7 separate regions of the Homo sapiens genome follow, and all the other regions are linked to region 1. Evidence: promoter capture Hi-C in 16 types of primary human blood cells and fetal thymus (Javierre and others, 2016). All regions are on one chromosome and are shown on one strand. Each heading gives the region's core, a stretch centred on a gene start or on the middle of the fragment in contact. The rest is flanking DNA. Distances are from core to core; before and after follow the strand shown.

Region 1 (3,138 bases), core at 435-2,934:
CTATGTCGCCCAGGCTGGTCTTGAACTCCTGAGCTCAAGCGATCCTCCTGTACTCGGCCTTCTAAAGTGCTGGGATTACAGGCATGAGCCATCATGCCTGTCTCTGAATTAATGACTGAATATATATTATACAACCCAAATCTTTAACTTGTTTTCTATCATTCATTCAACCCACTCCAATATGGCTTTCCTCTTCACCACTTCACTGGTAACTGTTTGTCCAGGTGACCATCATTAACATGTCGCTAAATCCAAACATACACTTTCTTCACCTTACACATCTCTGGGCTACTTTTGACATGGCCACTCCCTCCTTTTTGAAACACTCTTCTCTGGGGCTGTGTGTTTTATATGTAATGAATAAGGATGACACTTCCAGCTCTCTCCAGCCTTATACCACTCCAAACAGTGCATTTTCCAATGGTGCCTTCTGGGTTCACAGGGCCTACAGCCTATTCTCTCTCAATGTGTCATTCCAAATTCTTGGCAGTCTTCAAGTCCCCCTGCTTACTGACTCTGTTTTAGACATCCATCTTTCTGAAACGCCTACTTTCCCCTACTCCCAGCCCACGGGCCCTCCATCTTTTGCATACTACTTTCTCTATAAAGCCTTTCTTAACAAGCCATCTGTCCCTCCCCTCCCAATTATCTCAGGACCTTTCTATACCCTTTCAAGCTTCTAGCCTAGCATTTATTGCTCTTAGATTACATGTTTCCAACTACAGTGTAAATTCTTTGAGGGCACGCACCTAGTCTTATTCTAATACTCGCACATAACAGACTTTATTAAAACAATGAATGAATATAAAGAGCGATAAAACTGCGCTAACTACCGGCAAGAGTTAATGTTTATTGCCCTATCAGTAGTTCTCCGGTTAACAACGATAATATGCTAGCTTAAGACTAATTCTAAAACTAGTCGTAGAAAGACTTTCTAGGATAAAACTGAAGGATGCCCTGCAAAACATAAGTACAGTGTATCTAGAACGTACGAACACATCACGTTTTACAGGAAACAGAGACTACAAATTGTAGACTTGACTACGTTTGGTTTTACAGCCGACAAAGGTTCTGTTTGGACGGCTGCCTCCGGCTACAACCTCCCTGTTTTTTCCGGCCGAAAACATGAAATAGAAACTAGTGCCCTATTTCTCCCAAGGCACCGCCAAACACCCCGCGTCGGGGTGGCGACACCGCAGGGGCCTCGGGAGGCGGCAGCCCCGAGCGCAAATGGAGACTCACCATTAGGAGGGTGAAGCCGGCAAGGTCGGGGGCCGACTCCCCGCAGGGAACGAACATGGTCGCAGTGGGGTGGCCAGCAGGGACTAACCGCGGCCCTGGCAAGAACGAGGGCAGCAAGAAGGCGGAAGCCCGAGACCCCGGAGCCTCGCGGGGCGCGGGAGGGTCCTTTGAGTCCCTGGGCGCCGGGCCCTTGAGGCCCGTCCAGCTAACTGCCGGTTCAGAGGGCGGAAAGAGGCCGCCGGGTGGCCGCGAAGAGGGGCCAGCAGCGCTTTCGGAGACCCTGGCAAGCAAGGCGATGGGGTGCGCTGAGGTCTCGGGGTGCGGGGCCCGCGGGGAGGTGGAGCGGCGGGCGGAAACGATCAGGCAGCGTGCGGGCCAGCCCCAAGCCCTGTTTGTCCGCCACTGTTTGAAAACAGTTGGCGCCGCCGCCGCCGGGGCCTCATTTCCAGGTCAGCCCCCGGCCTGACGCGGCGTTGCGTCCCCCGGGAGCTGCGCTAGGCGAACGGCTGCGGCGCTTTGTGCTCCAGTCGCTCCTAACGCTCCCTGGCCCGGCCGGGGCCGCGCAGTTAGGGCATCTGAGGCGGGGAGAAGCGGCGGGGAGACGCCGGCTGCCAGCATGTCGCTGCCTCCGGAGAAAGCCTCCGAGCTGAAGCAGCTCATCCACCAGCAGCTGAGCAAGGTGAGAGTCGCGGGTGCTGGGAGAGACCGCCGGGCCGACCCATAACCTTTCCCTCCTGCCCGGCGGCCCCGGGCCGACAGCGGCATCTGCTTGCCGGGACTGTAGCGAGGATTGTGGGGTGCGCAACGCAGAGTAGGCAGAGCTTTGAGTTTGAGGCAGGAGAGCGTCCTCGTCTCCGAGAAAGAAAACGAGCCGAGCAGGTGCTAGCAAGAGTCTGGGGCGATAGAACGAGCGGTCTTGGCGTTTTAGGACGGCCGTGAGAATGAAGCGCTTAGCGAGCGACTTCTGGAAGTCGGATCGAGTGTAAGTTGTATTTGGAGGTTTATATTCTGCTGTAAGATATCAGGTTTTTTTTCTTTCTTGAGACGGAGTCTCTCTGTTGCCCAGGCTGGAGTGCAGTGGCACGATCTCGGCTCACTGCAACCTCCGCCTCCCAGGTTTAAGCGATTCTCCGCCTCAGCCTCCCGAGTAGCTGGGATTACAGGCGCGCGCCACCACGCTCGGCTAATTTTTGTATTTTTAGTAGAGACGGTTTCACCATGTTGGTGTGGCTGGTCCCGAACTCCTGACTTCGTGATCCGGCCGCCTCGGCCTCCTAAAGTGCTGGGATTACAGGCGTGAGCCTCCGCGCCCGGCAGATATCAGGGTTTCTTTACCGCTGAAACATGTGGGTATCAGCGAAGTTGAACCAGGAGCTTCAATCAGCAATTCTCAAATAAGTCATGGAAGAGAAGTTACTAAAGGGTTTGTAATGACGGAATTTGTTAATATTTCGGAGCTCCAGAAGAACCTCCAGTTTCTGCAGCGCTCGCTCGACTGAGTGCAAGATGCTGAAGTGATAAAAGCGACCATTTATGGTGCCCTTGTGTGCCAGGCTTTGTGCTGTCTAGTATCTTTAATCCTCACAACACTATCGTGAGAGGGCACTACACTAGGTTTTTCCATTCTTATCGGTGACGAAACAGATTTATAAAGGGTAAATAAGTTGGCTTGAGGTTACACATCTACTAAGTTGAAAGCTGGTAAGATTCCCTTATCATTAGGCAGATCAAAGTATGAAAGTAATAAGATCATACTTTGATCTGCCTACTCCCAGTCCGTGTTCTTCTGATTATACTATACTCCCTCTCAGAAGATTCCTTTTGGTTGAGTGTTGTTTGTGGAGAAATGGTAACAAAGGTGCCAGATAACCAGTGGAGACTATTTCTAGAATTTGT
Region 2 (3,138 bases), core at 424-2,923, 460 kb before region 1:
AAAGCTGGGACGAAATCCTAACTCTCTCTGGGCTTCTCTTAACACCTGCAATTCCTGGTGGCTGTGGGGACCAAGCTGGAACTGATGACCTCGGTTCCAGGCAGGTGCATGGGGTCTGCGTGTGGGAGAAAGCTGCTTAAATAGCAGTGATGCCAGGGCACAAAGCCCGACAGGTGGGGGACCCAGGTCCCACCCTCAGCCCTCCCCACTGCCTCCACCTCCTGGGATGTGTGATTTAGGCAGAGCCTTCAGCGCTGCAAGGCACGGGGTGGTGCTGGCTGTCTGGGGGGTGGGAGGAAGAGGTGGAGGCGGAGAAGAGGATGGTGATGATAGATAATAGCTATCACCCAACATAAAAAATGCTTGCCTTCCAAAAGTGGGTCTCTCACTCCTGGGACTATTTGGCCAAAGGCCAAGACCCCCGTGGGAGGCAGGGAGGGGATTATTTCCCTAGGGAGAGATCTGGGCCACGTGGACTCTGCACCCCCTTCAAAGCCAGGGTTCCCACTATGACTGGACAGACAGACCTGAGTACACTGCCATGGGGAGGCTGCTTGGAGCTGAGAGGGTCAGGCTCCAAGGAAAGGCTGACTTCACGTCCCGCTGCATGGTTCCACAAAGGGGTCCCAAGGAGCCCGTGCTCACAAGGCTTCGAGGTCATCTCAGCTCTTACAGAACAGCCACGCATCCCCCGGACACCCAAGATCTATTCTTGAGACCTTTTTATGACTCAGGGTATTTGAGCCAGCAGGCAGCTCACTCTCTCTGTGATTCCCCATGCACCATGTGCCAACGGTGACATGCTGACTCCAGGGCTCCAGGTTGCCTCTGGCAACCAGCACCATGCAGAGGGTGTCACTATGAATGACAACACTGAAGGGACAGTGCCTCCCAACAAACGGAACGCACACAAACATGAAATTCAAACCCCTCGTCTCGACATGCTAAGCCCTGTCCTCATTGGTGTCTAGAATGGGGTGGTGATACCCTGAGGACAGAATGCGTGGCTCCCGTAGCTTGGAGTCCAAACACTGCTGTTCCCTGCCGCTAACCTCTGGCACCCTGCATTCTCCTCGGAAGGTACTTTTGTACACAGACCAAGAAACAGTCGGTCTAGGGGGCAGGCCAGCCATCAAGGGGGAGAGAAAAGAGGCCTAGAGGAAGGATGTAGAGACCTGGGCTCTGGTACTGGATATGCCCCCACCTCCTGTGCAACTGGAGCAGGTCACTTAATCAGACCTTCAGCTTCCTTATCTGGGAAGTGGGGATCTCATCTCACTTTGCAAGATTATTCAAGTCAAATTATCATCTCCTTAGCCAATACTGTAAGCAATGCACACTTGTTTAAGGATTTACTGCCTGGTAAGCAGCCCTTTTACTTTTTTCTCTGAGAGGATTTTAGTCCTTTAGCCATTGAAAGAGCCAACCCTGGATTACCCTTGCCAAAATAAACCACTTCCTACTCAAAAACACATCTCACTTCACACCACTGAACTGGACACTTAAAAATGGTTAGAATGGGCTGGGCGCAGTGGCTCACACCTATAATCCCAGCACTTTGGGAGGCCGAGACGGGCAGATCACGAGGTCAGGAGATCGAGACCATCCTGGCTAACATGGTGAAACCCCGTCTCTACTAAAAATACAAAAATTAGCCAGGCGCGGTGGCAGGCGCCTGTAGTCCCAGCTACTCGGGAGGCTGAGGCAGGAGAATGGCATGAACCCGGGAGGCGGAGTTTGCAGTGAGCCGAGATGTTGCCACTGCACTCCAGCCTGGGCAACAGAGCGAGACTCCGTCTCAAAAAAAGACAAAAAAACAAATGGTTAGAATGGTAAATGTATGAGGTGTATATTTTACCACCCCTGCCACACACACACATCACTTCCTATTCTCGCATCCCGCCCTGGAATATTCCTCCCATTCCTGCACTGTTGGAGTCCCCCAGCAGCTGGCTCAAGCCCTGCCCTCCGATGGTGCCTCCCCTGCCTGCATCAGGCCACAGGCCCTTCCTTCATCCCCACATTGGGACACCTCTCACCCAGTGACTGCAACAACTGGGGACCCTTTGCATCCCCAACAAGAGTGCCACCGCCAGAACGCATAGACTGGGACCCCTAGAACACTGGTCAGCAGCACTTTATGCAAGAGAGACACTCAGTGTATGTTTGGCAATTGGCCGATTTCTCTGTTCACAGTGAAGGAAGGGGATGAGGCTCAGGCCTGCGAAGGACATGACTCCTTAGAAGCAGTGGTCCTCTAGCTCTTCACCATGTGAATTTTATTCACTGCTTCCCTGTGACGCTCATATTTGTTTTCTATTGCTGTCATATAAGTCACCACAAGGAAGTGGCATCACCAACATGGTGGAATAAGACGCCTCAAGTGTCATTCCTCCCAAGACACTGACTTAACAATATATGGTCCAAAAAGTCTGCATGAGAACTCCAGAAACCATTTAAGAAGTGGCAGCACCCCAGGCAAACTCAAAGCCAGAACAGCCACTTTGAAAAAGGTAACAAAAGCCATTTTATTTCAACCCCAAAAGCCATTCCTCAAAGCAGCACAATCAGCAGAAAGCACCCCGTTCACAGCTTCTCCGTCAAGGGAAAAAGAGAAGACTGGAGCATGTGTCCAACAGTCTAATTTTCAGGGGCTGCCTGAGGCAACGGTTTTTGTCTCACTTGAATTGGATCACTGATGGAGCTGATATACTTTGGATATCCTGGGAGCCACAGAGAACAAAAGAGCTCAGTGGCTTCTTGCAGCTCCAAAGAACCTGCAATACTTCGTACAGACACCAGAGGGAGTAAGAGATTACAAGCTCCAGAAAAAGAAACCAGAAAACCCCTCTAACTGGGAAATGACATGCACACGCCCAGAGAGAACACATCCCAAAGGTTTGAGAGGCTTCTGGAATCTCCAACCCAGATGATTGGTGAAAGTTTTCCCTTTATCAAGTTAGTCCTAAAAGACTGCCATAGGTGGCTGGTTTTCCAAATGCACAAATCACGGCATAAAATAGTAAGACCCATGGAGAAGCAAGAAAACATGGTTGAATCAAAGGAACAAAATAAATCTCCAGAAACTGACTCTAAATGAATAGAGGTCTATGAATTACCTCAAAAATAATTTCAAAT
Region 3 (3,138 bases), core at 209-2,708, 440 kb before region 1:
CGCCCCCCTTGCCCTCTTGCTTCCTCTCTCACCATGTGATCTCTGCACATGCTGACTGCTCTTCACCTTCTGCTATGAGTAGATGCAGCCTGAGGCCCTCACCAGATGCAGATGCCCAGCTTTGCACTTTCCAGCCATCCAGAATTGTGAATCGAATAAACCTTTTCTCTTTATAAATTACCCAACCTCAACCTCAGGTATTCCTTCATAGCCACAAAAAATGGACTAAAACATTCACCATTTTTATTCCCAGCAGCAATGCAGGTTTCCAATTTCTCCATATCCTCAGCAAAACTTTTTTTTTTTTTAGTTTTTTTTTTTATTTTTATTTTGTATAGTGATCATCCTAATGGGCATGAGATGATATCCCACTGTGGTTTTGATTTGCATTTCCCTGGTGATTAATGATGATGTTGCACATCTTTTCATACGTTTGTGGGCAATTTGTGTATCTTATTTGGAGAAATGTCTATTAAAGTCTTTTATCTAGTTTTTAATCAGCATGTTTGTTTTTTTGTTGTTGTTGAGTTGTAGGAGTTCTTTATAAATTCTGGATATTAACGTGTTATCAGATAAATGACTGGCAAATGTGTTCTTTCATTCTGTGGGTTGCCTTTTCACCATGTTGACTGTTTCCTTTGTCACACAGAAGTTTTTAAGTTTGACATAGTCCCATTTGTCTATTTTCTGTTTTGGTGTGACAGTCAAGAAATCAACGCCAATTCCAATGCCATAAAGCTTTTTCCCCTTTCCTTTCAGGGTTTTACAGTTTGGGATCTTACATTTAGGATTTTGTCCATTTTGAGGTAACTTTTGTATATGGTATAAGGTAAGAGCCCAAATTCATTCTTTTGCATGTGGATATCCTGTTTCCCCAACAACATTTGTTGAGGAGATTATCTTTCCTCACTGTGTAGCCTTGTCAAAGATTATTTGACAATATATGTGAGGGTTTATTTCTGGACTCTATTCTGTCTTTATGCCAGTATCATACTGTTTTGATCACTATAGCTTTGCAATATGTTTTGAAATCAGAATGTGTAAGGCCTCCAGTTTTTTTTTTCCCTACAAGATTGCTTTGGCTATTTGGGGTCCTTTGAGATTTTGAGGATGGACCTGTAAGTAGAATCAGATGTCACTCCTTTGATCATGTCACATTTTATAGCAAAAGAGGGATCATCAAGGGTGGGTCTGACCTATTCAGATGAGCCCTTTGAAGCCTGGAGTTTGATGCACTCTGCTGGTCTGGAAGAAAGCAAGCCCAGTCAGCTCTTCATATCCACGGTTCCACATGCATGGATTAAACCAACTACTTACCAAAAATACAGTATTTGTGGAATGCAGAACCCGCAGATCTGGAGAGTGGATGCTGCCTCTTCCTACCCACGGGTTCTGCAGGGCCGACTGCAGGTCAGGAGAACCTGCTGATTTTGCTATCTGCACAGGTCCCAGGAACCCAGGACCAATCCCCCACAGATACCAACCAGGAAAGGACGCATCTATGTTGTGATCTGCTGAAGAAGCTGGGAAACCTCTAGGAGGAGACAGGGACTCCTGGCTGATGGCCAAGAAGAAATTGAATGCTGCCAAATACTGAATGAGTTTGGAAGAGGATTCCAAGCTGCAGATGAGAATGTAGCTGACTGACACCTCGATTTCAGCCTCCTGAGACCATGAGCAGAGAATCCGCCAGGCAGTGCTGGCTTCTGACCTACAGAACTGTGAGAAAAAGGCAGGCATTATTTTCAGCCACTGAGTTTGTGGTAGTTTTGAAACCTGACCAATTGTCCCATAAAACTGATGTTTATCATTTCTTTTGAATAAACATAGAAATTGACCCTCTCAGTCTTAAAACTTGAGAAAGTTACATTTGTCTTATCTGAGTTCCTTTCTCAGGAAACCGACCATCAGGACTCCCAGGTAGTATCAAGGAGCTGAAACTTACAAGCTCACAGCCTCTGGAGGATGAGTGGCCAGGCCCTCAACCCTCATGATTGCCTGAGCACCACCTGCTGCCTGTTGACCAACTCCTCTTCCTCATTCTTCCCTAATTACTGTTTTCCTGCATGTAGTTACATTTCTTCCCTTCTATATAAACTCCCAATTTTAGATAGTCAGAGAGACGGACTTGAGACTGAATTCCCATCTCTTCAGCTGCAGCACCCGATTAAAGCTTTCTTCCCTGCCAATACTGGTTGTCTTGATGACTGGCTTTCTGTGCTGTGAGCAGCAGGACCTAGACCAAACCCCTGGTGTTTGGGTAATCATTTGTTATGCAACAATAGAAAACTAATATAGGGGATGCAAACACAATATGCATTTGTTTATCTGTATACACTCCTCTGTCCTCTGCTAGATTTTTTTTTTTTTTTTTGGCAGGATCTTGCTGTCACCCAGACTGGATGGAGTTCAGTGGTGTGATCCTGGTTCATTGCAGCCTCCACATCCTGTATTCAATTGATACTCCTATCCCAGCCTCCCAAGTAGCTGGGACTACAGGCATGCACCACTGGGCCAGGCTAATTTTTGTATTTTTTGTAGAGATGGAGTTTTGCCGTGTTGCCCAGGTTGATCTCAAACTCCTGGCCTCAAGCAATCCACCCGCCTTGGCCTCCTGATGTGCTAGGATTACAGGCGTGAGCCACCATGCTCAGCCTCCATTTCTAATAAGAGTAAATCTGCTTTGCATACTGGTGGGCAATTTGGCTTTTCACTCAATAATATAGCTTACATTTTTATATCACAACACAAAGCTACTCATTCTATTTTACATGTGTGCGGTGTTGAGTTGCATGAACCAAGATGCGTGTCATCTGTCCTCCAAAAGCAGCACTGAGGTCACTTCTGTTGTGTTATCTGTGCATGCCATGCTGCAGTGAAGCTCCTGGAAGTCATGCCTGTATGCCCTGTGTGTTTACACAGGAGGGACTCTAAAAAGGGAGCTCTGACTGTGTTTGTCTGTTGGAAGCTGAACTTCCAGGTTCCACTCCGTTCCTGGCATCCAGGTTCTTACAGGCTGCTCTGATGCTACTCACTGCTCTGTGTCTTGTGGCTCAGTGAAGAAGAAAGGGGACTCTTGAGCCAACAAGAAGAGTTAGGGCTGGTTGGGTAGACAGCGGGTGTGGGTCTTGGGTCCTT
Region 4 (3,138 bases), core at 313-2,812, 420 kb before region 1:
AAAACAGTATTCTAGGGGGTTTGTTTTTGTCCCTAAAACTATGTCCTAAGAGCTTCAAAATACACCTCAAAATATGCAATTTAACAAGTTATTCACAGTGTGAATGAGGCTACAAACACATTACACACAGCCCATGTGATGTCATCAACGTCTAGGCTTAGGCGTTTTTAAGTGAAAGTTCTGAGCTCACAGGGAAGGTACTTCACCCCTTAGTCTCGTCTCAGAGCTGTGTGTTTTAAAGACTGGCAACCAGAAGTGATGTACGTTTCGGTTTCCAGCATCTGTCCTGAAAATCCCAGCAGTGTCGCTCTTGGGTGCACAAGAGTACACCGGGCATGAGGTTTAGAAAACAGCTTCAGTATTTCAAAGCCCTTTTCCTGGATATAACTGATAACACAAATAGTGTATGTTCTTAAATATATCTATATAGAGCAAAGGTGTGTATGTGTATCTCTATATGTTTTTATTTAAAGTCTGGGTTATTTTCCCCAAATGCATTACATTTGTTTTACCATGTCAAAGATAATGTACTTTTTAAAAAAAATCTAACCTGGCCCATGGCATTAGCTACAATTTTCTCTTGCATGTTGGTGGTCAATACTTGGATAAATATAGTACCATTTGCCTATTTAAGAGGCTTTATAACTTATGAATTAGTAAAAATAATAAAATAGCCCCAAAAAAATCTCTGGAAGAACTCATTATTAATAAATTTCATCACAGAATATAGAATTGTTCTATATTAACCTGAAAATTTAAGTATATTGTGATTAAAAATATATCATCTGCTTTAGATTTACAGATACACTGAATAAAATGGAATGCAATTTAGAAAGAACCACAACATTTAATACAGCTATAGAACACTCCCAGCAAGATGGATATATTTTAAAAAGTACTTTGTAATACTATTATTGAGAACTAATTTAATCTCTACACACACACACACACACACACACACACGGGAAAAGGTAGCAGGAAAGTCCTCTGAACCCAGTGGGGAGGTCTAGTTCAGATCCTCTCTCTAGCTAATGATAGATGTAATTGCAAAGGCACGCAGAGCAGAAATGCATCTAGGGAGCAGAGAGGCCATCAGGCTGTGCACACTCAGCCCCCAACTCCCTGCAGGCCCCATCTACATGGAAAGGGCTTAGTGGAACCTACAAATTCTAGCAACCACACTTCCTTCCTTCCTTTCAAAACATTTTTTTTTTTCAGACGGATTCTCGCTCTGTCGCCCAAGCTGGAGTGCAGTGGCACGATCTCAGCTCACTGCAACCTCTGTTTCCCTGGTTCAAGCCATTCTCCTGCCTCAACCTCCTGAGTAGCTGGGACTACAGGCATATGCCACCAGGCCCGGCTACTTTGTTTTTTTGAGACGGTGTCTCGCTCTTTTGCCAGGCTGGAGTGCAGTGGCACGATCTCGGCTCACTGCAACCTGTGCCTCCCAAGTTCAAGCGATTCTTCTGCCTCAGCCTCCTGAGTAGCTAGGATTACAGACATGCGCCACCTTGCCCAGCTAATTTTTGTATTTTTAGTAGAGACGGGGTTTCACCATGTTGGCCAGGATGGTCTTGATCTCTTGACCTCGTGATTCACCCGCCTCCGCCTCCCAAAGTGCTGGGATTACAGGCATGAGCCACCGCGCCTGGCCTGCTTTTTGCATTTTTAGTAGAGACAGGGTTTCACATGTTGGCCAGGCTGATCTTGAACTCCTGACCTCAGATGACCCGCCCGTCTTGGCCTCCCAAAATGTTGGGATCACAGGCATGGGCCACCATGCCCGGCCCAAAACATTTTTTTAAAGGAACAGTTTCCACAGAAAAAAAGCCAGTACACTAGCACATACAAGGTACCACCATTATCAAAGAAACTGAAAAAGGTAATAAAATTTGTTCCCACACATGGGTGAGAAGTCACTGCAGCTCAATGATAACTCTATTCCTTGGCTTGTCACTTTTCTAGGAACTGTCCTTCTCTCCCAAATGACATGCAGGGTCTGCCAGGATTGTGCACCTTGCACTGTGCAAGGACATGAGGGCACAGTTGAGGTGGAACCTATTAGCTACAACACCTCAGCTGGGGTTAGATGGTCATAAAATAATAGGTTAAGAGAAAGATGCTTTTGGGGACTAAGTAGAAACATAAATTCTTTTAAAAAAGATATAAGAAAGAGATGATCTCTCAGAACCCTCAAAAAAGAACCTTTACAAGAAAACCTGTTAGTAATGTTTCCTTTTCCCTATAACCTTACTTATAATCTATCATACATTCGTGTTCACCCACCTCTGCACTGAGCAAAACCCCTGTACCTTCTTGGGGGAACTCTTCTGCCTCCTTAAGCTAGAATCAGCTTACAGCCTGTAAGGAGCAGCCACTTTCCTGTGCTAGTGCTGGAGCTTTCGGAGAGCAGCCCCACCAGGCCTTCCGGTGGCCTTGGAAAAAGTGCATATTTGTAAGTAATCATCTCCTGTACCCTACAGATGACTACAATCCTATTATTGCTTTGGAAATGTGTAGTTAATGGTGTCATAGAGCACACAGTGATCTAACAAATGAAAAATGTGATTAACTAAAGGCTGGGAATTGCTTCTCAGGGCTTTAAGAACACAGATTTTGTTGCACTGCCAAGGCAAGCTAACTGCTGCTCTCATCTGGCAATTATGTATTGTGAACCTTTGTCTAAAGTCACAGTGTCTCGTGTCTGGGACAAATACAATAGCACACAATGCCGTAAGTCCCCATGACTTCAGTTCTGTGGTAAGAACTGTCACTGGGGTTCCTGTGGTATCTGCCTCTACTGTCCTGCTGCTTCTCCAAGGTCAACACAGGTCATTCTCTGTTACAAAGGAGCCAGTGTTTCCACCTTTCTTTGCGTAAAATAAAGTTTCCTATAACCCAGAGTTTAGTTCATTTAGTTAAACAGATCACAGAATTAGTGCTTTATACACATGATTTTCTTACTCATACTTTACCAAATTTACAATGAACTGCTGCTATTAAAGCTATTGCTGAAATCAGTACTATTATGCATTTACCCTGTAGTCCTATAGTGATAGTTAATATCGATGCAGACTTTCTGGAAACTCACCATAATCAGAATAACTTAAGTGTCCGCCACTAATAGAGTATAAAATT
Region 5 (3,138 bases), core at 182-2,681, 390 kb before region 1:
TCTGGCAGGCACCATTTTTAACTAAGTGATGAAAATAGTATTAGTGATAGGACAAATCAGCACTGTACACTGCCTGAGAAGATGCACCAAGAAAACAAACAGCATCATTCCTACCAAAAGTGTGAAAATTGAATCTGCAAACTGAAATTGCGGGATATTTTACAAAGTAACTGGCCTGGACTCCATAAAAACATCAAGGTCATTGGTAAGAAAGAGTTAGCAATTGGCCTGCAATCTATTTTCTCCTTTTTACCAGGGAATGCTCAAGAAAAAAGAAAGGTGATTTGGTGAAATCTCCCGGTGATCTTGCTAATGACAGATCTCCTAGCACACACACTAATGTCCTTATCTATGGAATGCTTTTTGCAAGATGTATCTGCTCTGTCTAGAATTATTTGCGGTAAAGAAACCTGAAGCTTCCGATTTTATGGGATGCAGTTATTTGAAAAATTACCACATAAGTTATGTAATTACCAAAGTACAAAACAGAACTTTCATGCTCAATATAGCTCTTCATTTCGGGTAAGCCATGTAGCACATGAACAATTTAGAGACCTTGTGTCAAATCTGAACAAGAGCTCAAGTATTAATGCTGCCAAAAGGACCTAGGAAGCACCACTGCCAGTCCCAGACTTCTCCAGGCTTCACCTAAAATTACTAGTAAGCTTAATTCTGGATGAAGTCTTTGATTCTGTGGATCTGATACAATAATTGAACCTTCTGTATCATCTCAGTCAGGAAAGATAAGGAAAGGCTAAGGAACTCTATTCTGAAAGAGAGTAAGCAGATAGGATAACCAAATGCATCATGTGATGTTAGATTACACTCCGGACCAGAGAGGAAGCAGCAAAGAGGAAGGTTATTTTTGTTGTTGTTTTGTCATTTAACTATAACATAAAGGACATTATTGGAACAAACAATAACATGTGGATGGAACCTGTGGACTAAATGATTGTAGTGTATTGCTATTAAATGTCCTAATTTGGATGAGTTTTCCATGGCTATGCAGGAGAGTGTTTTTTTGTTTTGTTTTGTTTTTGAGACAGAGTCTTGCTATTGCCCAGGCTGGAATGCAATGTCCCCATCTTGGCTCACTGCAAGCTCTGCCTCCTGGGTTCACACCATTCTCCTACCTCAGCCTCCCCAGTAGCTGGGACTACAGGTGCCCACCACCACGCCTGGCTAACTTTTTTTTTTGTATTTTTAGTAGAGACGGGGTTTCACTGTGTTAGCCAGGATGATCTCGATCTCCTGACCTCGTGATCCGCCTGCCTTGGCCTCCCAAAGTGCTGGGATTACATGCAAGAGCCACCATACCTGGCCGTAGGAGAGTGTTTTTAGGAAATTTAGGGCTAATTGGTTATCATGCCTGAAACTTACTCTTACGTGGTCCAGAAAAACCTTCCATACAAATAGAGGATGATAAGGTAAAGGTGGTAAACTGTTAACAACGGTGAGTCTGAGTGCAGAGTATATGGGAGTTCTCTGCACTATTTCTAAACTTTCCTGAAAGTTTGAAATTATTTCAACTTAAATTTTAAAATAAAGGTGAAATAAAAATTTTGAGACAAAATAATAATAATAGTGAAGTACAGGAAAAAAGATCAGCTTTGCTATGAATCGAATCATCCTGAAATCTGGTGAAAGATTTCTGTTCATTTATTTTACCTTGTAGATTCCAAGCTAGCTTTGGAAGAAGGCTGAAGGAATTCTCTGCTAGAAATGCAATCTCTGAATTCTCCAATTACTGAAAGTATAATTTTACACATGCTTCCATAAAAGAGCTGAACATCATTAGGTCGTTGGGGAAGATCATATACTGAAATAGAAAATAATGTTTGAAATACATGAATGTTCACACAAGCATACCACAAAGTAACAGATACATTTGTATATTTATAGCTATAGAATATTAGTTTCCTGGGTTGGGGGAGGTGACATTTGGATTAGCAGTATACCACCTGGCACAAAATTACAGTCAATTCAGCACCAGTGGCTGACAGCTCAGACTTGGAACCTGAATTTGAACTACCTTTGCCACTCATTTACTTTGTGACTTTTGGCAAGTTACTTAACCTCCCTGAACTTAGTTTCCCCAACTATAATATAGAGTAACGATCTGTATCAGGGGTTGTGAGCATTAAAATAAGAATGCCTTTGTAGATATATTCGGCAACAAACATTTATATGAAGCTTAATGTGGACATTGTTCTAATCCCTTTATATATATTAATTTAGTTAATTTTCAAAACAATTCTTTGAGATAGGTACTATTACCTCTACTGCAAAGAGGAAAAATCTGAAGCACAGAAATTAAGGGTCCATGATTTTTAAGTGGCAGTCTCATAGACATTCAATTTAAAGTAAATCTAGAAACTAGAACTATTCATTTAATTAAATATTTATAGATTAATGAAAGAGTGTTCAAGATAAACATCTCTAGATTAGGACACCCAAATTTGTATAAACAAGAAATGTTAAATTAGATAGTCTTTGAGTCATATATTTTGACATGGAAATTTTAAAAGAACACAGTAACTATAAATTTAAATTTATAACTTAAGCAAGACTCCTGACTGAAAAAGTTTAAATCAACTACAAAAATACATGCCACAAATTACACATTTTGTAAAAGCAAGATTGTTACAAATCCTTGGAATAGTAACATGCTCAAGCAAATGTTACTGAAATTCATCACATAAAAGCTTCAACTGCATTATACTCCAGGTGATCTATGGTACCAACCAACATGAAAAAGTGAAACTGTTTCCTCCATTCCTCTGGGCAATAAACTTATAATCACAAGGAATATAGTATTCCTTGAGGTGAAATTCTGGTGTCCCAAAGACCTGGCCTGAGTCCTAGCTCAACCCCACCTTAGATGGGCAATCTTGACAGGCTACTTGAGCTCTTGGTTGGCTGTGTCAACACAACTCTTAATACAATATGTGTACTTAATTTTTGGACATGCAGCTGTACCTGGAGCATTCTTCCTCATTCTGGTCTCATCTTCACCTTGCCAACTCCTCCTCTTTCTTCAAGTATACCTCAAGAATCATCTCATTCTAAGTGAGGTGCCCTCCCAGATTTGTAAACACAGCTCTGTCTGTAACAGCACTTTTCACATCACACCTAAGT
Region 6 (3,138 bases), core at 314-2,813, 390 kb after region 1:
TGTCCTGGGGAACACCTCCCAGTTCCAGGCAAATCAGAAAGATTGGTAACCTGATCGCAAAACTATTAATTTCTGAATATTTTATCTTGTGTCTGGCTCCCTTACTGAAGTCTTGTAAGTGCTAGTCATTTTTCAGCTGATAGCCTATCTGGAAACTCCAAGAGAATCATTTCATCAACAAATAACACTTTTGTCTTTTCCTTTACATGATTTGCATTTTTTCTTTCTCTGGTTTTTGTGCACTGGCTAAAGCCTTCAGAACATGGAATAATTGTAGAGACAATGGACATCTGTTTCTTATACCTAATTCTGCTGGAAATGCTTCTGTTTCACCAGGGAGTGTAATGTTGCTATGGGTTTCTGGTAGATAATCTGTAAATAAAGGAAGTTTCTTTCTACTTCCAGCTTACATAGAAGTTTTTTTGTCCTCTACAAATCAGGAACACATCCAAAACTTTATCTTTTTTTTTTTTTTTTTGAGATAGAATTTCACTCTTGTTGCCCAGGCTGGAGTGCAATGGTGCGATCTTGGTTCACCCCAACCTCCGCCTGCTGGGTTCAAGTGATTCTCCTGCCTCAGCCTCCCGAGTAGCTGGGATTACAGGCATGTGCCACCACACTGGGCTAATTTTGTATTTTTAGTAGAGATGGGGTTTCTCCATGTTGGTCAGGCTGGTCTCAAACTCCCGACCTCAGGTGATCCGCCCGCCTTGGCCTCCCAAAGTGCTGGGATTACAGGCGTTAGCTACTGCTCCTGGCTTCCAAAACTTTAATCTTTTTTAAAAAATTGTTTCCTGCTGGGAGTCAGAAAAAAAACCCACTTTTTTGGGTCATCTATTAAGATGTTGTCTTTAATCTATTAGTAGACTTCTTAATGTTGAACCATCCTTGCATTCCTGGGATGTTGCTAGTATTTCTCAAACACTTATTTTGTACTAGACATTCTAAGTGTTTATTTAATCCTTACATCTCACTAAGAGGTAGACAGTCCCACTTGTGATGAGGAAATTAAGTCACAAGTAAGTTAAATAAGTCTAAGGCCACATAGTGAGTGGAAGGGCCAAAATTTAAACCCAGGGAGTCTGGCAGCACAGCCAGACTCCTAACCATTACACTGTCTGCCTCTCAGTCTTACTTGGTCACAATGTGCTATTAATATATTTTTTAAAAAACACAACTACATTTGATATTCTAAGTATTTTATTTTGGATTTTTGCATCTATATTTTTAAGTAAGTTTGATATACAGCTTTCACTTGTATGTTCTAGTAGAAGCTACCTAGCCTCATAGGAAATGTTGGGAAGTTTTCCATCATTTTCTCTCTGGAATGGTTTGGATAATGGGATTGTCTGTTACCCTCTATTAAACTATCTCTTCCTGGTGCCTTTTGAGAAAGGGGTTAGAATGTAGATTTTTCATGATGTATTTGATTCCTACACCATAGTGCTTTTAAGCCAGAATCAGTCTTCAAATTCTTCACATTTTCTTGGAAGACACTGCTTTTCACAGGTATTGGAAATATGTTTGATTGAGTGAGGAATTTTTTTTTTTAGCAATAATGTCAATAGATATGTGGTCTCTAACATTAAAATAGGTGGGAAACTTCCAAATCTGCCACCTATCCTGTAGGTTCTACTTGATAACACTAATGGTACCACTTCATGTAATTTTATATAATTTTCTTCAGAAGTCTGCAGAAAGATATGTTTTACTATCATTTTTTAGGTGGAAGAAGCAAGAAAAAAAGGATTTACCTAATTCTGATAAAACCAATATAGGAACCAAAAACAAATGGCAAAATAACTTTATAATGATGGGGAAAAAGAAGCTAATGTCTAAAATTGTTTCTTGGTTTTTGTTTTTTTGTTTTTTGCTATTTTTGAGATGGAGTCTCGCTCTGTCACCCAGGTTGGAGTGCAGTAGTGCAATCTCAGCTCACTGCAACCTCTACCTCCCGGGTTCCAGCGATTCTCCTGCCTCAGCCTCCCGAGTAGCTGGGACTACAGGCACGTGCCACCATGCCCGGCTAATTTTTTGTATTTTTAGTAGAGACAGGGTTTCACCGTGTCAGCCAGGATGGTCTTGATCTCCTGACCTCGTGATCCGCTCGTCTTGGCCTCCCAAAGTGGTGGGATTACAGGCATGAGCCACCGCGCCTGGCTTGATTTTTGTTTTTTAATCAAGAACTACCAGTAGAAGAATTTCATTTAGAGATATAGAGGTTCCTTCCCACCAAAAAAGTCAAGATTTAAAAAAAACTGTTCCTTGTGATGAACCCAGCTAGGGATGGGAGGGGTGGGGCTGGGAACCACTGATTTCCATTCACACTTTTTCTATGACACATGATGCTTTAAATCTGGCATATAAAATATTTGATTTAAAAAAATAAAAGAAGAAGAAGAAAGTGAGAAAGATGGAACCTACCAAAGATGAAGTTGTCAGGCCGGAAAAGCTGCCCAAAAGGCCCAGACCGCACGCTGTCCATGGTGCCTGGCTCTAAGTCCACCAGGGCGGCCCTGGGCACATATTTCTGAGCTGGAGGAGAAAAGAACCACCCACAAGAGTTACTTTCAGGTTTCTAAAGTAATTGACTTCCCCGTTTCAAGTCCCACCAGTTCTAGCTGCCTGGAATGGATCAACCAGGGTCTTTTCAGAAAGGGTACAGGAACTTTCTTAGAATCACAGAATTGGCTGGGCGCACTGGCTCATCCCTGTAATCTCAGCACATTGGGAGGCTGAGGTGGGCAGATCGCTTGAGCCCAGGAGTTCAAGACCAGCCTGGGCAACAGAGCAAAACCCTGTTTCTAAAAACAAACAAACAAAAAACCAAGAAAATTAGCTAAGTGTGGTAGTGTGCACCTCTAGTCCTAGCTACTCTGGAAGCTGAGGTGGCAGGATCATCTGAACCCAGGAGGTCAAGACTGCAGTGAGCCATGGTTATGCCACTGTACTCCAGAGTGAGACCTTGTCTTTTTTTTTTTTTTTTTGCGATGGAGTCTCGCTCTGTTGCCCAGGCTGGAATGCAGTGGTGTGATCTCGGCTCACTGCAAGCTCCGCCTCCTGGGTTCATGCCATTCTCCTGCCTCAGCCTCCCAAGTAGCTGGGACCACAGGTGCCCACCACCACGCCCGGCTAATT
Region 7 (3,138 bases), core at 175-2,674, 370 kb after region 1:
GGCCTCCCAAAGTGCTGGGATTACAGGTGTGAGCCACTGCACTTGGCTGCCTATTCTGCTTTAATGCACATAAAAAGATACATTCTTATCACCTCAGAAAAGCAAACGTAAGATGCTGTGCACACTGAACATCTTGTTTTTTTAATTGAAGTGTGTATCTCTGAGATGTATATAGAACATACACAGCCTCCTCCTATTTTTTTTTGTTTGTTTGTTTTGAGAAGGAGTCTCGCTCTGTCGCCCAGGCTGGAGTGCAGTGGCACAATCTTGGCTCACTGCAACCTCCGCCTCCCGGGTTCAAGTGATCCTCCTGCCTCAGCCTCCCAAGTAGCTGGGACTACAGGCGCACACCACCATGCCCAGCTATTTTTTTGCATTTTTAGTAGAGACACGGTTTCACCCTGTTGGCCAGGATGGTCTTGACCTTGTGATCCACCCGCCTCGGCCTCCCAAAGTGCTAGGATTACAGGCGCGAGCTACCGCGCCCGGCCAGCTTCCTCCTCATTATAGATGGTCAGCATTCATTGTGCAGATGTGTGGAAATATGTCTAGTATGGAAATGTATCCCTTACAGATGGACATTGGTTGCTTTGATATTTTGCACATCTTACTCTAAAACTATGCAACCTTATGTATGAGACATCTTTTTCATTGGTCTTAAATCCTTTTTTGGAATGGGGTCACCTGTAAATAAAAAATTAATATTTCTGAATAGACTTTGCTGAGTAACTGTATTTAATGAAAATTGTTCATATTTCAGGTTGCTCTTCTGTTGTTAGAAAAAGAAGTATTAGATAAGAATGATATGGTTGAACTTTTGGGCCCCAGACCATTTGCGGAAAAATCTACCTATGAAGAATTTGTGGAAGGCACTGGCAGCTTGGATGAGGACACCTCACTTCCAGAAGGCCTTAAGGACTGGAACAAGGAGCGGGAAAAGGAGAAAGAGGAGCCCCCGGGTGAGAAAGTTGCCAACTAGAGGCCCAGAGGGAGGCCATCTCAGTCTGTCCACTGTGGTTTCAGCTGGTGCATTATTTCAGCTGTGGCTTTCAGAAGAATGGGAATGCTGCGCTGATTTTAGCCAGCCACTGGCCCAGCTGAAATGATGGGGAAAGGAGTCCTTAGTCCTTTCAGCCTCAGAGGTCACAGTGGGTGGCAGGTGACTTTCCGGAGGCCTTGAGGGAAATGCACACTGTCCCATAGCCTCATTGGGCTCCCAGACGTGCTGGAAAGGTTGAGCCCAGAGTGGCCGAGGCTGGACCCTGTGGCACCAAGTGGGGTCGGCTGACCGTGTGGCAGGGATCGTTGCACTGGACTCTTGGCGTGTGGGAAGGGATGCTTTCTCTTTGTCGCCCACTCTTCATTCCTGTTTCTCCTCAGTTCCCCTGTGCAGATGGGCTGTGAAATTAAATTGGAGTCTTGATAAGAACATTTTAATTTGACTTAATATTTTAAAGATTGAATCCAGATCACTTGTTGCTGTCTTAATGGAATGGTTTTCTACAGGAGCTGTAACATACTTAAAAATATGAATGTATTATGTAAATATGGCTTCTTTACATAAAAAATAAAATGTCAACACTGTACTTTTCTGAACACACATAGGGTCCCTATTTATGCTCTGGATATTTTTAGAAAACATAATGGCAAGAAATTAAATTTTCTTGCTTTTTAGAGGAGAATCCTTCAAAATCTCAGCCTCGCTGGTTCTCATTAGCTCCCACAGGAGGTTGGAACCTTCTAGAGTTATGTGTCCTGTAAAGATGCACTGAGCTCTGGATATAAAGTACATGGGTCCTGAGGGGTTAGTCATGGCCTGAATCTGTGATAACCACCCCAGTGCAGGTCCTCAAGAGGCCAGTCATGGCCAGATGTTGGCCACACCTTCTGGGTATAGAAGTTAACGTATAACTGTAGCGGGCCTGGCAGGCTGACCTGAGCCGTCACCTGGATTTTAGAGAAGGAACAGTGGAACTAAGCTGGAGTCCCCTGGGCCCTGGCTCTCTGGGGACATCTCAGGAGTGGTCTGACTGGTAAGCTGCTCCTATTGTCTATTGAAAGGGAGTTATTGGTTATGTGCTTCCAGAAAAGTGAGTCTGTAGTGTTGCAAACCTATATCAAAATTCCTTAAAAAAGATGGCATGAGGAAGATTTGCTATGTCTTCTATCAATTGCTGTTATTTGGACATGGAGGAGACACTGGCATTTTTAACTATTTACATTTTTAGCAGTCTGTTTTAGCATTATTCCAGCTTGCCTTGTGTGGTGTTGATGTTGTCGGAACAGTGGCTTTAGAATTAACACAATCTAGTGGCATCCCTGCCATGGCCCCAGGCCATGCATGCTCCACCCATGGCTACTTCCCAGCAGCCTGAGATACCCACCTGTCCCCGGCAGGCCGTGGAAGCAGCTGTTTGGACTCCACAGCTCAGCATGCCAGGAGAACAGGCGCCCCCTGCTGGACCTTTGCACCTGCAGGCATTGCCACACTGGCCACTTCCTTTCCTCATAGGGTGTTTTTGGGAGGTGCCCAATGAAGCATTGTTTCCAGGCTGAGGCTCACACAGTTGTGAGGGTGCTGGGTGTGCTTTTTACCATACAGGCAGTAGACGATTAGGAGACGCTCTCTACTCCTTATCCAACCACTGCAAGGCATGGAGCCAGCGTGGGCTGCCCTCTCACAGGCCTTGGCTGTGAGACCTCCCGGGGGACGAGAGTGGGGCCCACTGTCTGTCAGGCTTGATACAGTAAGAGTGACAAAGCCAGATAGCACCGACAACACCCATGTTTCTGGTGAGGTGAGCAACCTTAAGCTCTGGGCCCTGGATGGCTGCTCAACCTGTGCAAGTGGCCCTCTGTGCTAGGAGCAACCGTGGCTCCCTGTGCCACCATCTTGTGGGGCCTGCTCATGCATAGATCTTTCCACGGTCACACAGAACATGTTTTCAGGACAGATGTGGGTGGTGAGCTGGTAAGATTTATTTTTACTGTGGTCTCAGAATAGTTCAGATTTCTGCAAAAAGATCTGTGATCACCTCAAGCCATGCTGCTGTGTTTAGTGATGAACTTTCCATCTGCCCAAGGCTGGGGCTTAACACAAAATAAATACAGCTAGTCAATGTAAGGCCTGGGATCACA

The links. Contacts are between HindIII fragments. The CHiCAGO score rates a contact against its expected background, and 5 or more counts as called.
Region 2: a fragment that was not itself captured here is called in contact with the fragment with the promoter of CEP76 in region 1 in 1 of 17 cell types (neutrophils); the score reaches 5.1 in neutrophils.
Region 3: a fragment that was not itself captured here is called in contact with the fragment with the promoter of CEP76 in region 1 in 1 of 17 cell types (naive CD8 T cells); the score reaches 5.2 in naive CD8 T cells.
Region 4: a fragment that was not itself captured here is called in contact with the fragment with the promoter of CEP76 in region 1 in 1 of 17 cell types (neutrophils); the score reaches 6.1 in neutrophils.
Region 5: a contact is called between a fragment that was not itself captured here and the fragment with the promoter of CEP76 in region 1, in 1 of 17 cell types (M2 macrophages). The highest score is 5.7, in M2 macrophages.
Region 6: a fragment that was not itself captured here is called in contact with the fragment with the promoter of CEP76 in region 1 in 1 of 17 cell types (monocytes); the score reaches 5.0 in monocytes.
Region 7: a contact is called between a fragment that was not itself captured here and the fragment with the promoter of CEP76 in region 1, in 4 of 17 cell types (monocytes, M0 macrophages, erythroblasts and 1 more). The highest score is 7.0, in monocytes.

Annotation. Positions count from the first base shown.
Region 1 is chr18:12,701,269-12,704,406 of GRCh38, reverse strand. It overlaps CEP76 (centrosomal protein 76), which reads left to right and starts at 1,684. Exons shown (of 12, transcript NM_024899.4): 1 at 1,684-1,921. The coding sequence starts at 1,859. It overlaps PSMG2 (proteasome assembly chaperone 2), which reads right to left and starts at 1,365. Exons shown (of 7, transcript NM_020232.5): 1 at 1,243-1,365. The coding sequence starts at 1,299. RefSeq lists enhancers at 1,997-2,046, 2,057-2,356, 1,642-2,539. The HindIII fragment of the contact is 2,487 bases long and covers 679-3,138 here.
Region 2 is chr18:13,159,349-13,162,486 of GRCh38, reverse strand. No RefSeq gene overlaps it. Among named protein-coding and RNA genes, the nearest start is that of LDLRAD4, 58 kb to the left of the region's middle. The HindIII fragment of the contact is 9,792 bases long and covers 1-3,138 here.
Region 3 is chr18:13,142,708-13,145,845 of GRCh38, reverse strand. No RefSeq gene overlaps it. Among named protein-coding and RNA genes, the nearest start is that of LDLRAD4, 74 kb to the left of the region's middle. The HindIII fragment of the contact is 1,435 bases long and covers 741-2,175 here.
Region 4 is chr18:13,120,658-13,123,795 of GRCh38, reverse strand. All of the region lies in intron 44 of CEP192 (centrosomal protein 192), which reads right to left. Among named protein-coding and RNA genes, the nearest start is that of LDLRAD4, 97 kb to the left of the region's middle. The HindIII fragment of the contact is 4,916 bases long and covers 1-3,138 here.
Region 5 is chr18:13,091,058-13,094,195 of GRCh38, reverse strand. CEP192 (centrosomal protein 192) reads right to left here. Exons shown (of 45, transcript NM_032142.4): 34 at 1,669-1,819. Among named protein-coding and RNA genes, the nearest start is that of CEP192, 100 kb to the right of the region's middle. The HindIII fragment of the contact is 1,528 bases long and covers 668-2,195 here.
Region 6 is chr18:12,310,340-12,313,477 of GRCh38, reverse strand. TUBB6 (tubulin beta 6 class V) reads right to left here. Exons shown (of 4, transcript NM_032525.3): 3 at 2,425-2,535. Among named protein-coding and RNA genes, the nearest start is that of TUBB6, 3.7 kb to the right of the region's middle. The HindIII fragment of the contact is 5,042 bases long and covers 1-3,138 here.
Region 7 is chr18:12,327,406-12,330,543 of GRCh38, reverse strand. It overlaps AFG3L2 (AFG3 like matrix AAA peptidase subunit 2), which reads left to right. Exons shown (of 17, transcript NM_006796.3): 17 at 761-1,600. The coding sequence ends at 979. It also overlaps a transcript of TUBB6 not described here. Among named protein-coding and RNA genes, the nearest start is that of TUBB6, 21 kb to the right of the region's middle. RefSeq lists a silencer at 2,300-2,594 and an enhancer at 2,129-2,978. The HindIII fragment of the contact is 3,564 bases long and covers 1-3,138 here.